3 separate regions of the Homo sapiens genome follow, and all the other regions are linked to region 1. The links are contacts of gene promoters, found by promoter capture Hi-C in blood cells and fetal thymus (Javierre and others, 2016). All regions are on one chromosome and are shown on one strand. The core of a region is centred on a gene start or on the middle of the fragment in contact, and the rest is flanking DNA. Distances in the headings are between cores, read along the strand shown. Region 1 holds the start of SLC25A35 (solute carrier family 25 member 35). Region 2 overlaps ALOXE3 (arachidonate epidermal lipoxygenase 3). Region 3 holds the start of ALOXE3 (arachidonate epidermal lipoxygenase 3).

Region 1 (4,202 bases), core at 1,138-3,637:
AACCCCCACAGAGGTATCGAGCTGACTTTGGGGAGACCACTGTCCCTGAAACTCACACCTTGAAATGAGACCAGACTGCCTCTGCTACAGGACATACTACTTCCCCGTCTCTTTTGCTCTTGGGAGCACTAAGCAGGGCCTAGTCCTAGCAATAAACAGCTGTGTGACCTTGAGTGGGTCACTTCCCCTTTCTGGGCCTCAGGCTCTTGACCCTTCACCTATACCAGATAACTCAAAGGGGCAGATGTTGAGATTGTTAATTCTGTGATGCCCAGGGCCTTCCTGATCCCTAGACTCTCTGACGTATGTTAAATTCCTTATCCTCCCCTTCACAAATCCAACCTCAATATCAACACATAATAATAAAAACAAATGCTACCAAATGCTTACTGTCTGCCAGGATTCGCACTAATGCTTTCATGTCTACCGCATTTGTCTCCCTCGATCCTCCCAATAATCACACAGAAAGGGCACTATAATTATCACCATTTTACAGATGTGGCAACTGAAGCTCAACAACTAGTAATTTTCTTTCTTTTCTTTTTTTTTTTTTTTTTGAGACGGAGTCTCTCTCTCTGGCCCAGGCTGGAGTGCAGTGGCCGGATCTCAGCTCACTGCAAGCTCCGCCTCCTGGGTTTAGGCCATTCTCCTGCCTCAGCCTCCGGAGTAGCTGGGACTACAGGCGCCCACCACCACGCCCGGCTAATTTTTTGTATTTTTAGTAGAGACGGGGTTTCACCGTGTTAGCCAGGATGGTCTCCATCTCCTGACCTCGTGATCCGCCCGCCTCGGCCTCCCAAAGTGCTGGGATTACTGGCGTGAGCCACCGCGCCCGGCCAACAACTAGTAATTTTCAAAGCCAGGATTTTAGTTCCAGAAAGTCTGATTCCAAAGCCCATAATCTTTTTTTTTTTTTTTTGTGAGACGTAGCCTTGCTCTGTGGCCCAGGCTGGAGTGCAGTGACCGGATCTCGGCTCACTGCAAGCTCCGCCTCCCGGGTTCATGCCATTCTCCTGCCTCAGCCTCCCGAGTAGCTGGGACTACAGGCGCCCACCACCGCACCCGGCTAATTTTTTGTATTTTTAGTAGAGACGGGGTTTCACTGTGTTAGCCAGGATGGTCTCCATCTCCTGACCTCGTGATCCGCCCGCCTTGGCCTCCCAAAGTGCTGGGATTACAGGTGTGAACCACTGCACCCGGCCCCAAAGCCCATAATCTTAATCAATACATTCAATCGTGTCCATCAGATGGGTGTGTATAGGGCAGATCAGAAGACTCCGAAGCCTACCAGCACTTTCCTGATGCCTTTCCCTGCTTGCAGTGGGGCAGCACTCTGCCACCTATGCCCTTGGGAAAGAACAGCTCCTATCCTACAACGAGGATCTGCCCTGAAGGTCCCAGGCAAGAGCCCTCTTCTTACCATGTAGATGGGGCTCCCCAAGTAGGCTCCCATGACCCCAGCCATGGCCCCAGCTGCTGCGCTGCGGGCAGGACTGTGGGTGCCTTCGGCTGTGTGCAGGTAGCCCCCAGCCTCAGCCAGCCCATAGGTGCCCAGTCGGATGCCATTCATCAGGAACTGGTACAAGAGGGCGGGGGCCAGGCCTTTCTGCAGGGCAGCAAGGCCATCCACCTTGCCGATGGTGATGAAGGCATGGAAGACATTTCGGTAGTGCCGCTGGTATGTGCCAGGGGCCTGCAGTTCTCCTTGCAACTGCATCCTGGTCTTCACCACCTCCAGGGGATTGGTGAATACACAGGCCCCGCAGGCTGCCAGGCCACTCATCAAGAAGTCCATGGTGGGATAGCTGTAGCAGGAACTGACCCAAGAGTAAGAAAGTAAAAATGGGTGTCAGAAAGCGGGGTTGGAAGACAGGGGGAAGGCCTGTTTCAGCAGTACAGGTTGCAGAAGATAAGAATTTAGATTTGCAGTCAAGGGTGTCAGGGTCAAATGTCAAGTGGTCAAACGTCAGCTGGAATTTGGGAGTCAAGAGCTGGCAAGCAGGGAAGAGATAGAAATCTAGGAGATTCTGGTGAGAAGCTTAAGGCAGGACCCTCTGAGGTCAAGGAGGGGCAAAAGACAGAAGGTTGCAGGTGGGATGGCTCAGGATGGCGGGCGACGGGAGCACGGGAGTAGAGGAGGGAATCGCGGGGTTGGGAGATGGAAGCCAGGGAGGCAGGAAGAAGAAAGCCAGCAAGTGAGAGAAGAAAAGGATCCGGGAGAAGAGCCGGTGATTTCCTCGAGCCAGCAACGAGATCTCGATCCGAGAAAGAAGTCAGGACTCTGGCCAGGAATGAGCGTCCCTGAGCGTCCCCAGGCAGCCACCGGAGCTCGCAGTAGCTTCAACCCCGGGTAGCCTGCGGAGGCCGGGCCGCCACACTCCTGCCACTGGAGCGCGGGGCCAATGGGGAGCCTTCAAGAGCCACAACCGAGGCCCTCAGCCAATCAGCGCCGAGCCGGCTCCGCGGCCAAAGGGAGGAGCTCTCGGCGCTCCTGTCCCCGGAATCACCCGGAGGCGGTTGGAATTAACTGTCCAGGCTCCGCCACCAGCGCTCGGCCGCCGACTCCGGCTCCGGAAGGGAGGCCCGGGACGCGGCGGTTTTGTTATTGGCAGGGAAGAGACCTGGGTTCCCGATCGAACACAGAGGCCGAGCGCAGCAGTCCCCCACTGGGGTGCTGGGACCGCCCCTCGGGTGGGCGGACGGCTTTAGCTTCCTACCCCGGGTTGTGACCGGGTGGGGTCACATAAGTTCAGGTCCACGCCCTGCTCGGTGCCGGCGCCAGGAGAGCCAGGAAGACGCGGCCCGGCTTGCGGGGGGTAGAGGGACACACTTGCGCTGCGGGACCAGTCTCCTGAGGCTGCACGGGTTGGTGCTTGGTTAATTAAATCCTTAGTCCTTAGGCTCTTTATTTTTATTTTTTATTTTTTTTGAGACGGAGTCTCGCTCTGTCGCCCAGGCTGGAGTGCAGTGGCGCGATCTTAGCTCACTGAGAGCTCCGCCTCCCGGGTTCACGCCATTCTCCTGCCTCAGCCTCCCAAGTAGCTGGGACTACAGGTGCCCGCCACCACGCCCGGCTTATTTTTTGTATTTTTAATAGAGACCACCGTGTTAGCCAGGATGGTCTCGATCTCCTGACCTCGTGATCCACCCGCCTCAGCCTCCCAAAGTGCTGGGATTACAGGCGTGAGCCACCATCCCTGGCCTGGAGTTCTTTCATATGAGATATTTGTCTCTACTCCTCCATTATTTATTCAACCATTTATTTAATCAGTATGGACTCATGGACATTTATACTTTGGGTTATAATCCAATATACTTCATATTTATTTTCTAGCTAATTTCGTTCTAGCTTTGGCCTTTGAGAGCTGTTTCCGTTGGCTCCTGTGTCTCTTTAGCATACCCCCATCCATTTTTTTTTGCACACAAAAGTTTTTAGTTTATAAATCTTGTGAAAAATCCACAGTGGCCACAGATGTTACTGTAGCATCTTTACTCCTTTGGCTTTTTGCCACACCAACACTGTCCTTTGCAGTCCCCCTTTCTTCATTCTGGTCTTGTGTTCCTTTCATTGCTTTCTTGAGTTCTTTTCTTCTCATCCAGGCCATGTCTTGGAAGTCAGCATTTGGGTTTATTTTTCTTTGCATAATCCAGTGAATCATAAATCATGCCAAAGCCAGTTGTCTTGCCACCACCAAAATGAGTTCTGAATCCAAATACAAAGATGAGGCCAGGCGTGGTGGCTCACGCCTGTAATCCCAGCACTTTGGGAGGCAGAGGCAGGCAGATCACATGAGGTCAGGAGTTTGAGACCAGCCTGGCCAACATTGTGAAACCCTGTCTCTGCTAAAACTACAAAAATTAGCCGGGTGTGGTGGCAGGCACCTGTAATCCCAGCTACTCGGGAGGCTGAGGCAGGAGAATCACTTGAACCCAGGAGGCAGAGGTTGCAGTGAGCCGAGATTGCGCCACTACACTCCAGCCTGGGTGACAGACGGAGACTCCATCTCATAAAGACAAACAAAAACAAACAAAGATGATGACATCTAGTGTAGTCTCATACATTTTGGCTAGTTTTTCCTGAATTTCTGTCTTAGGTACTGTTGTCTTCCCAGGGTGAAGGACCTCAATAACCATTTGTTCCTCCTGAAGTATGTAGTCAGTTGATCATGAACTTCCTAGTTCAGATAGTTACTAAGTCATTC
Region 2 (4,202 bases), core at 1,277-3,776, 190 kb before region 1:
TAGCCAGGCGTGGTGATGCCTGTGGCCTCAGCTACAGGAGAGGCTGGGGTGAGAGAATTTCTTGAGCCCAGGAGTTTGAGGATGCAGTGAGCCATGATCATGTCACTGCACTCCAGCCTGGGTGACCCTGTCTGGAGTTGACCAGGCTTTTTTTCAGACAACCTGACCCTGTCAAAAGAGAGAAAGAGAGAGAAAGAAAGAGAGGGAGGGAGGGAGAGGGGGGAGGGAGGGACGGAAGCAAAAAAAATAGTGCTGTAAGTGACAGTCTGCCACTTCTGGGCCTAGACTTGAAGAAATCTGAAAGCTTGTTTGCAATCTTGGAAGCCAGCCACCGTGCTATGAGGAAGTCCAGCTATCCTGCTGGGGAGAGACCCCTTGGAGAGTCCTGGGGGATAAGACAGCATATGGAGAGAGAGAAAAACCACACAGGTGCACTGAGGCCCCAGACATGTGAGCAAAGCCTTCTGGGAACTTCCAGCACAGCCCAGTCACCAGCTGATTGCATGCAAGTGTTTCACCCTAGCCAGTACCCTCTGGACTGCCCAGCCTAGCCCTGCCCAAATTTCTGATCCAGAGAATCTTAAGAAAAAAGAAATATGTCTGTAGTTTTTTTATTTTATTGTATTGTGGTTTTTTTTGAAATAACAAGTTTTATGTTTTTAAAATCAGATTGACATCTAATTTCTTTTTTTCTTTTCTTTCTTAAAGATGGGGTCTTGTTATGTGGCCCAGGCTGAAGTGCAGTGGCTATTCACAGGCATGGTCATGCACACTGCAGCCTTGAACTCCTAGCCTCTAGGAATCCTCTCTCTGCGGCCTCCTGAGTAGCTGGGACTACAGGCCTGTGCCATTGCACCTGGCTTAATACTTGATTTCTAAAACTGTAGTATAGCCATCAAAAAAACAGAACACACACACACACCAGAGAAAGAAAGAGAAAACACAGCAGAAGACAGAAATATGACACTGGATTCAAAGCCTACTTACTAGCTCTGTGCTGTTGAACAAATTGCTGAATCTCCCTGAACCTCAGTTTTCTCCCCTGTGAAGTGGAACTACCATTTATTGAACATTTATATGCCAGCACGGTGCCAAGCTGCTTTTTTTTTGTTTTTTTTTTTTTGAGATGGAACTTCACTCTTGTTGCCCAGGCTGGAGTTCAGTGGTACCATCTCAGCTCACTGCAACCTCTGCCTCCCGGGTTTAAGTGATTCTCTTACCTCAGCCTTCTGAGTAGCTGGGTTACAGGCATGCATCATCATGCCCACCTAATTTTTGTATTTTTAGTAGAGATGGGGGTTTCACCATGTTGGCCAGGCTGATCTCGAACTCCTGACCTCAGGTGATCCACCCACCTCGGCCTCCCAATGTGCTGGGATTACAGGCGTGAGCCACCACGCCTGGCTGCCAAGCATTTTAAATAGAGCTATGTATTTGGTTCACATTTTAAAATCATGTACACAAAGGATCTGATTTAATAACTGAGACATGATGGCTCCTCAGTGACAGCTGCCATTATTATTGTTGTTATAAATTTCCAAGTTAAACTTTCTATAGTTTATAGGAGAGAGCCCTCCACCCTCATGCTGTTGTCTACTTATCTGTCATCCCTCTGGGACCAGATAGGGACAGGACCCAGAGTCCTGCCATTCCCAGGATATAAGGTAGCAAGTTAAAACTTGCCAGGAAGATCAAATATGTGGGATCTTTCTTTTTTTGTTGTTTTTTTGTTTTTTGTTTTTTGTTTTTGTGTCACCCAGGCTGGCGTGCAGTGGCGTGAACATGGCTCACTGCATTTTTTTACTTCCTGGGCTCAAGTGATCCTCCCACTTTAGCTCCCCCCAAGCAGCTGGGACCACAGGCACACACTAATACGCCCGATTAATTTTTGTGTTTTGGGTAGAGACAGGGTTTCACCATGTTTCCTAGGCTGCTCTTGAATTCCTAGGCTCAAGCAATCCACCGGCCTCAGCCTCCCAAAGTGCTGGGATTGCAGGCACGAGCCACTGTGCCCAGCAACATCTGGAATCTTTCCAGCACCAAAGGGAGTCAAGCGTGAGAAATAAGAATATTCACCTGTTAGAGAGCTTGTGTGCAAGACGGCTGGGTGGAAACAAAGATGATGGGAACCAGTGATAAAGGGCTACTTGCCTGGCCTAAACTCAGATATTGGCCCCTCTCTAGCCTCCTGCCTCCAAAGTTGCCCTTTGCATCCATTCACGCAGCCACAGGAGCACCCTAGCTAAAGCAGATTTAACCATTGGGCCTCAGGCTTAAAAGTCTTGATTGGCGGCCGTGCGCGGTGGCTCACACCTGTAATTCCAGCACTTTGGGAGGCCAAGATGGGTGGATCACAAGGTCAGGAATTCGAGACCAGCCTGGCCAACATGGTGAAACCCCATCTCTACTAAAAATACAAAAATTAGCTGGGCACAGTGGTGGGTGCCTGTAATCCCAGCTACTCGGGAGGCTGAGGCAGGAGAATCGCTTAAACCTGGGAGGCGGAGGTTGCAGTGAGCTGATATCGCACCATTGCACTCCAGCCTGGGTGACAGAGCAAGACTCCATGTGGGGGGGTGGGGGAAGCCTTGATTGGCTACCCTTTGTCTTCTAAACGAACACTGTGCAGACAAAGCCCTACCTTCCTCTCCGCTCTGCTATTTCCATTTGTGATCCTACAAACACACCAGTGATTTCTCGCCTTCGCTCCTTGGTCCTGTTCTTCCCCCTCCCTAAAAAAGAGCCCTGCTCTTCCTCTCTGTCCAACTCCTACTTGTCCTGCAGATTTCAACTTAGATGTCACTTTCTCCAAGAAGCCTTCCTGGGTTCCCCCAGACCCATTTAGGTTCCTCAGGGCCCTGTCCTTACCCCTATCACTGGACTGTAAGCTCACATGGACAAGTTTCATAGCTGCCCATAACAGTGTCTGGGTCACCACTGGTACTCAGGAAGTGTGTGTTGAATGGAGAAATTAACATATAAGTAACTCCTACAACACGGTGGTGCCCTTTTTCATTGACCTGTATGTCTCCTCAACTAGACCACAGGCTTCTTGAAGGCAGGAAGGTCTCAGCCAGCGTTATAGGCCTGGTGCCCAGTGCTGTGTGGACACATAGGAAGTATCCAACAAATGTTTATTGAATGTTTGCATTAACACATGAGTAGTTGATGAATGAACATTCGGATAAATGGATGGACGGACAGATTGGTAACTAAACTGGTATTTGCTTCAGTCTATGTCTTTTGGGATTATCATTTTCTGAAGAAATTGAAGAACCCAAGGCAGTTCTGCAGTGAACATAAATCCCGTCGATCAGTCCTCAAGCCCCCAGACGAAGCCACCACCACCCCTACTGGTGGCCCTAAAGAACCCTACTCCCCTCAACATCCCGTATACACACCTGGTCCTTGGGTTCTTGGCTAACCAACCAGAAGAGGAGGAGGTTGTTACAGCTGATGTTCACTTCAGGGAGGGTGTCTAGGTAAGTCTTCAGGGTGGTGGTCCCCTTGGTCTGGGGTGGGGGCTGCCTCATGGATGATGGAGCATTGGGCATCCAGGCCCCAAAGTCATGCTGTGGAGACCCCCATCCCAGTTGGGTCAGTTGGCCAGAAGGGGAGTATCACCTCCCTCTTCACCATCCCTGATTCCACCTCTGCCGTCCTAGAGGTGATAGTTGGGAAATGAGGGGATCACGGAAAGGCAAGAGAGCTGGGAAATGAGGGGATCATGGAAAGGCAAGAGAGGAAAGGGTAGGGAGTGGAAAGTCCCAGAAGTGGGGCAGGAAGCCAGCTTACTCCTTGTCACTCCCCGCCCAGTGTTCCAGGACTCGGTGGGGTGAGTCACTAGGGAAGGAGGTGGCCCCAGAGTGGAGGTAATCCTAGAAAAGGGCCTTGGGTTGCCATGCCACACAGAGCAAGCTGCTACTCCACCTGGCTGGGTTCTAACCATGAGAGGAGCCCCTAAGTTCTTCTCCCAAATTAACATCAACTTGAATCACCATTACAACCTTGGACCCAGCTCCACCCAGTCATCACCCAATGCCAACCCTTCACCCCACTCAGCTGCCACTCCAACCCCAAGTCTAATCATAAACCCACCCCAACGCTGACCCACCCAAGCTCTCAACCCAAATTCAGGCCTCAAGTCCATTGCTGAGACCTGATGTCCCCAGGCCTGCCCTTTGTAGCCTCACCTGCCCACT
Region 3 (4,202 bases), core at 495-2,994, 180 kb before region 1:
GCCCACCTGTTCCTGGCCTCAGCTCCACGGTGCAGTAGCCTTCAATCCACTGATAGCAGGGGAAGTGGGATACACTACCATCCGGTTCGGTGACACAGATGCGGCTACAGTACCAAGAGTCCTTGCGGAAGAAAGCGTAGCGCTCCTTGTGTACACGCAGCAGCAAGAGCTCACCCAGCTCCGCTGTGCAACGCACCTTGTACTTCTGTACCTGAGGGGACCAAGACAGCAAGCAGGTGAGAGGCGGGGAACTGCCAAGGCGGTCCTTGCGCCTTGCAAGATGCATCTACACCTAAGCCTATTCGGGCATACAAACCTGAGCTGCTCCCAGCCCATACCGGGCTTTTGTATGAATTAGAAAAAGCTTCCCCGGGCCGGGAGAGGTGGCTCACGCCTGTAATCCTAACACTTTGGGAGGCCGAGGCGGGTGGATCACCTGAGGTCAGGAGTTTGAGACCAGCCTGCCCGATGAAACCGCTTCTCTACTAAAAATACAAAAAATTAGTCGGGCGTCGTGGCAGGCGCCTGTAATCCCAGCTACTTGGGAGGCTGAGGCAGGAGAATCGCTTAAACCCGGGAGGTGGAGGTTGCAGTGACCTGAGATCACACCACTGCCCTCCAGCCTGGGCAACAAGAGCAAAACTCCATCTCAAAAAGAAAAGAAAAAGGTGCCCGAGCACAGTGGGCACTGCATTTCACTAGCTTCCTAGGCCGGCTGGGAACTCTTGTGGAGGCCACCTGGGGCTGGCAGAGGCAGGCAGATCCCCTCGATAAGAGGAAACCCAGGCTCAGAGAGGGGAAGCGACTTGCCCAAAGCCCACGGTCAATTATGGGAGGAGTTTAGGAGCCAGGGGAAGTCCCTCTACTCCCTGTCCAACGCTCCTTCCTCTCCACAGTCCTGCCTGGATGGAGTTCATCATCTCCAGGAAAGACAGGGACCTCAATAGGGAAGGTGAGGAGGTCAGGGCCGGTATCCTGAGTTCAGCAGGATCTCAAGAGTCCAGGAGGAATACTCCTCCCGCCTGCGGCCCCTGCCCCTCTGAGGTCGCGCTTCCCTGTCTCCTTTGTACTCACCGATCCAGGGGCGAAGTCCCTGCCCATTCGATCTAGCCGCTGCTTGGGGCTTTCACCACACGTGCCCACCAGTGTGACAGAGATGTTGTCCAGTGTGCCGGCCCTCAGGTAGGGACCAGTGGTCACACACAGGCGGTACACTGCCATGATGGGAAGGAGGAAGGGATGCCCCGGCAACGCTGGCCGCAGCAGCAGCCGGCCTGGAGGAGAAGAGCGGCACGCCGGACAGGGCTGGGTTTCTGGGCGGAGGGCTAGGGGCTGCGGGGCTGGGTAGGGCTGAGGATGGGCCCAGCTCTCTCTGGGATGTTCCTGGGCTTTCTCTCTCCGAAGCTCCCTGCTGGCGGCTCGGGCTTCCTCTCTCCGCCCACAGTCTTGCACTCTAATACTTGTTTGCTTGCCTCTGACACAGCCGGTCCCTCTGGCTGGCTCACCCAGATGGATATCAGGAGCCTGGGTTCCACTGCGGAGGGAGGGATCAGATGCTGAGATGGAGAAAAGGAGGTAACGCCTGTATAATTGGGACACTGCCCTCCGCCTGGTCAGCGGCCCGGACTGATGCCCTGGAGTGCTTGTCCGCCCACTCCCCAATGTCCCCCAAGATCTGTTCCTCCCCATTCCCAGGCAGAGATGAGCACAGGGCACCTGCATTCCTACGTGTGAATCATCCGTGTGAATCACTAAACAGTGGAGAGTTGCACTTGGTCATAAATCACACGTGACTGCAGCCACACGCAGGTGAGTCGCACACGCATTCCAGCACATGTCAAATGGTCAGGAACAGCTCCCTGTCACCCCATACACCGATCCCCCCACGCATGGCCCTCTTTGTCCCCAGCCTTTGGCACGCCCGACCTCATTCTCTGCTCTGGAGTAGGGCAGGTCAGGAAAGCGAAATACAGCGCCGGCAAACAGGGTCTGAATGCCCCGCGTGGCATTCTTTCCGCTCCAGGACCGCCCTGGGCCTGCAGGATCCTGGGCGGGAGCCCAGGTGTCCGGGATCTGGGCCACTAGGGACTGGGGAGGAACCTCTCAGAGAAGCCCATAGCCCGCAGCGGCCCCGCGCGGCCGGTTCCGGCGCCGCACTGTTCCAGCCTCTACTATGGTACAGTCCCTGCGTCGCAGCCTCGGCGGGGGCTCTAAGAACGGGAGGCAGAAAAAGCTCAATCAGCAGCAGGCGAGCTTCACCCGCTGCTTCCAAATCTGTGCCAAAATATTCTATGCTGCACAGATAAAATCCTCTGTCGGTTCTACAAGCCTGGCTTTTCCTATAGAGAACCCTCTTATAAGCAAAAAGTAAAGCTCTCGTGAAGAGCCCGGATAGCTCAGTCGGTAGAGCATCAGACTTTTAATCTGAGGGTCCAGGGTTCAAGTCCCTGTTCGGGCGGCATGTCTTTGCTTTTGGGTACCGCACTTCGCATAAAATGGTAACAAAAATAGTTACTAGTTTTTAAAGCTAGGTGATACAGAAACTTGATTTCCACAAAATACAGCAAACGACGGTGGAGGGTAATAAACATACTTTAAAACAGTACAAACGCGAGCCGTATTATCGAATTTACATTTTCTGGTAGCCACATTACAAAGAATAAAAAGCAAGCGAAATTAATTTCACGGATCTATTTTACTTACCCTAATATACCAAAATCTTATTTTAACATATAATCAACATTCTAAAAATATTAATGAAATTTTAAGTCTTTTTGTTTGTACAAAGCCTTCCTTCAAAAGAAGATGTGTATTTAGAAGCTGGCAATACATCTGAATTCATATATTTCAAGTGCTCGATAACGGTGTCTACCATATCCAACAGCAGACTTTGTTTTGTTTTCGTTTTAAGTGACGGGTGTGGAAGACACGCAAAATAGAATGTCCAGTAATGTACACAATCTTGAAAGACACCACGAGGGAGGTTCCATGGTGTAATGGTTAGCACTCTGGACTCTGAATCCAGCGATCCGAGTTCAAATCTCGGTGGAACCTTGAAGCTTTTCTTTTAATATCAGCATGTTGAATATTGTTAATTGATTTTCACAGAGGGGATACTCCTATGACCCAAGATAATACGACAAAAAAAAAAAGTAAACTAGGACACTACCAATTATTTGTGCTTTTCCTACCGGATAATTGAGTCCTATAACACAGTGTTAAGAGAACGTACAATAAATTATTTAAATATGTTGGAAGTTGAGCTAACATTTGAAAACATGTTAAAATAGAGATGTTATGAAGAAACGAAATAATAGAGATGTTATGAAGAAACGAAATATTGCTTCAGCAGTTACCATCAGGTCTTAGCTTCTGGGATGGATGCAGGCCTATGATCTCTCTGGAAGACCAAACACGGAAGATGATGGTGAAACCATTACCAGGGGAATTCGTAAAATTACTTTCTGCATGTAAATAGGTGTAACCTCACAGAACTGTTAACAGAACTGTAGCAGGTGCGTAATCCACCAGAAAAACTCCAGCCTGGCAGCGGTGGGATTCGAACCCACGCCTCCGAAGAGACTGGAGCCTAAATCCAGCGCCTTAGACCGCTCGGCCACGCTACCTGCACGAAAACTTACTGTCCCCGTTGTCCTCCTAAGAGACTAGAAGTAAGGAATGGGGCAAATCTTAAGAGTGCCAAATTGATTCGTCTCCTTTTCCACATCTTTTAGACTGGAAATGAAGAACCATCGAGACTGTGGACCGCATAGCAGCAGATGGCAGAACAGATAAACGAGAAGAGACAAAAACACACAGAAATTTACAACAAAACTAGTTTATTTGGGTGGGACTATATCTGGGAGTGGGGAGCGCCTGAGCCGGAAACACCCCCCAAGCGGGCAGCCGGAGCTCTGCACTCGCTCGCTCAGCCATTTTCGGTTGCTCTCCCTCCCTGTTTTTTCGACCCATGTGCGCCCTCTCTCTCACCTGGCTAACATGCTTTGCGCCCGCTACCTCTACCTGGCTTGGCCTCTGAGATCCAAACCGCGCCCTCCTGGCATGTCCCGCCCAAGTCCCTTAGCCCCGCTCCCCAACCCTGCCCCATTCCCACTCTAGTACCCGTAAGCTACAAGACGCCGCCGTTCGTCGGGTGGCTCTGTGGCGCAATGGATAGCGCATTGGACTTCTAGTGACGAATA

The links. The method cuts DNA at HindIII sites, captures the fragments that hold promoters and counts their contacts. A CHiCAGO score of 5 or more calls a contact.
Region 2: a contact is called between a fragment that was not itself captured here and the fragment with the promoter of SLC25A35 in region 1, in 2 of 17 cell types (activated CD4 T cells and naive CD8 T cells). The highest score is 8.2, in activated CD4 T cells.
Region 3: a contact is called between the fragment with the promoter of ALOXE3 here and the fragment with the promoter of SLC25A35 in region 1, in 14 of 17 cell types (non-activated CD4 T cells, fetal thymus, activated CD4 T cells and 11 more). The highest score is 19.2, in non-activated CD4 T cells.

The regions. Positions count from the first base shown.
Region 1 is chr17:8,293,013-8,297,214 of GRCh38, forward strand. SLC25A35 (solute carrier family 25 member 35) reads right to left here and starts at 2,388. Exons shown (of 5, transcript NM_001320870.2): 1 at 1,421-2,388. The coding sequence starts at 1,795. RefSeq lists enhancers at 2,108-2,187, 2,208-2,257, 2,878-3,007. The HindIII fragment of the contact is 5,205 bases long and covers 2,037-4,202 here.
Region 2 is chr17:8,099,922-8,104,123 of GRCh38, forward strand. ALOXE3 (arachidonate epidermal lipoxygenase 3) reads right to left here. Exons shown (of 16, transcript NM_021628.3): 14 at 4,194-4,202; 15 at 3,402-3,572. Among named protein-coding and RNA genes, the nearest start is that of MIR4314, 14 kb to the left of the region's middle. The HindIII fragment of the contact is 4,448 bases long and covers 303-4,202 here.
Region 3 is chr17:8,116,770-8,120,971 of GRCh38, forward strand. ALOXE3 (arachidonate epidermal lipoxygenase 3) reads right to left here and starts at 1,745. Exons shown (of 16, transcript NM_021628.3): 1 at 1,717-1,745; 2 at 1,075-1,534; 3 at 7-211. The coding sequence starts at 1,221. It overlaps TRK-TTT3-5 (tRNA-Lys (anticodon TTT) 3-5), which reads left to right and starts at 2,386; the gene lies at 2,386-2,458. TRQ-CTG1-5 (tRNA-Gln (anticodon CTG) 1-5) reads left to right here and starts at 2,983; the gene lies at 2,983-3,054. HES7 (hes family bHLH transcription factor 7) reads right to left here. Exons shown (of 4, transcript NM_001165967.2): 4 at 3,823-4,202. It also overlaps TRL-TAG1-1 and TRR-TCT2-1. RefSeq lists enhancers at 911-2,110, 1,832-1,911, 1,992-2,061, 2,212-2,311 and silencers at 2,832-2,881, 3,012-3,101, 3,472-3,681. The HindIII fragment of the contact is 2,695 bases long and covers 363-3,057 here.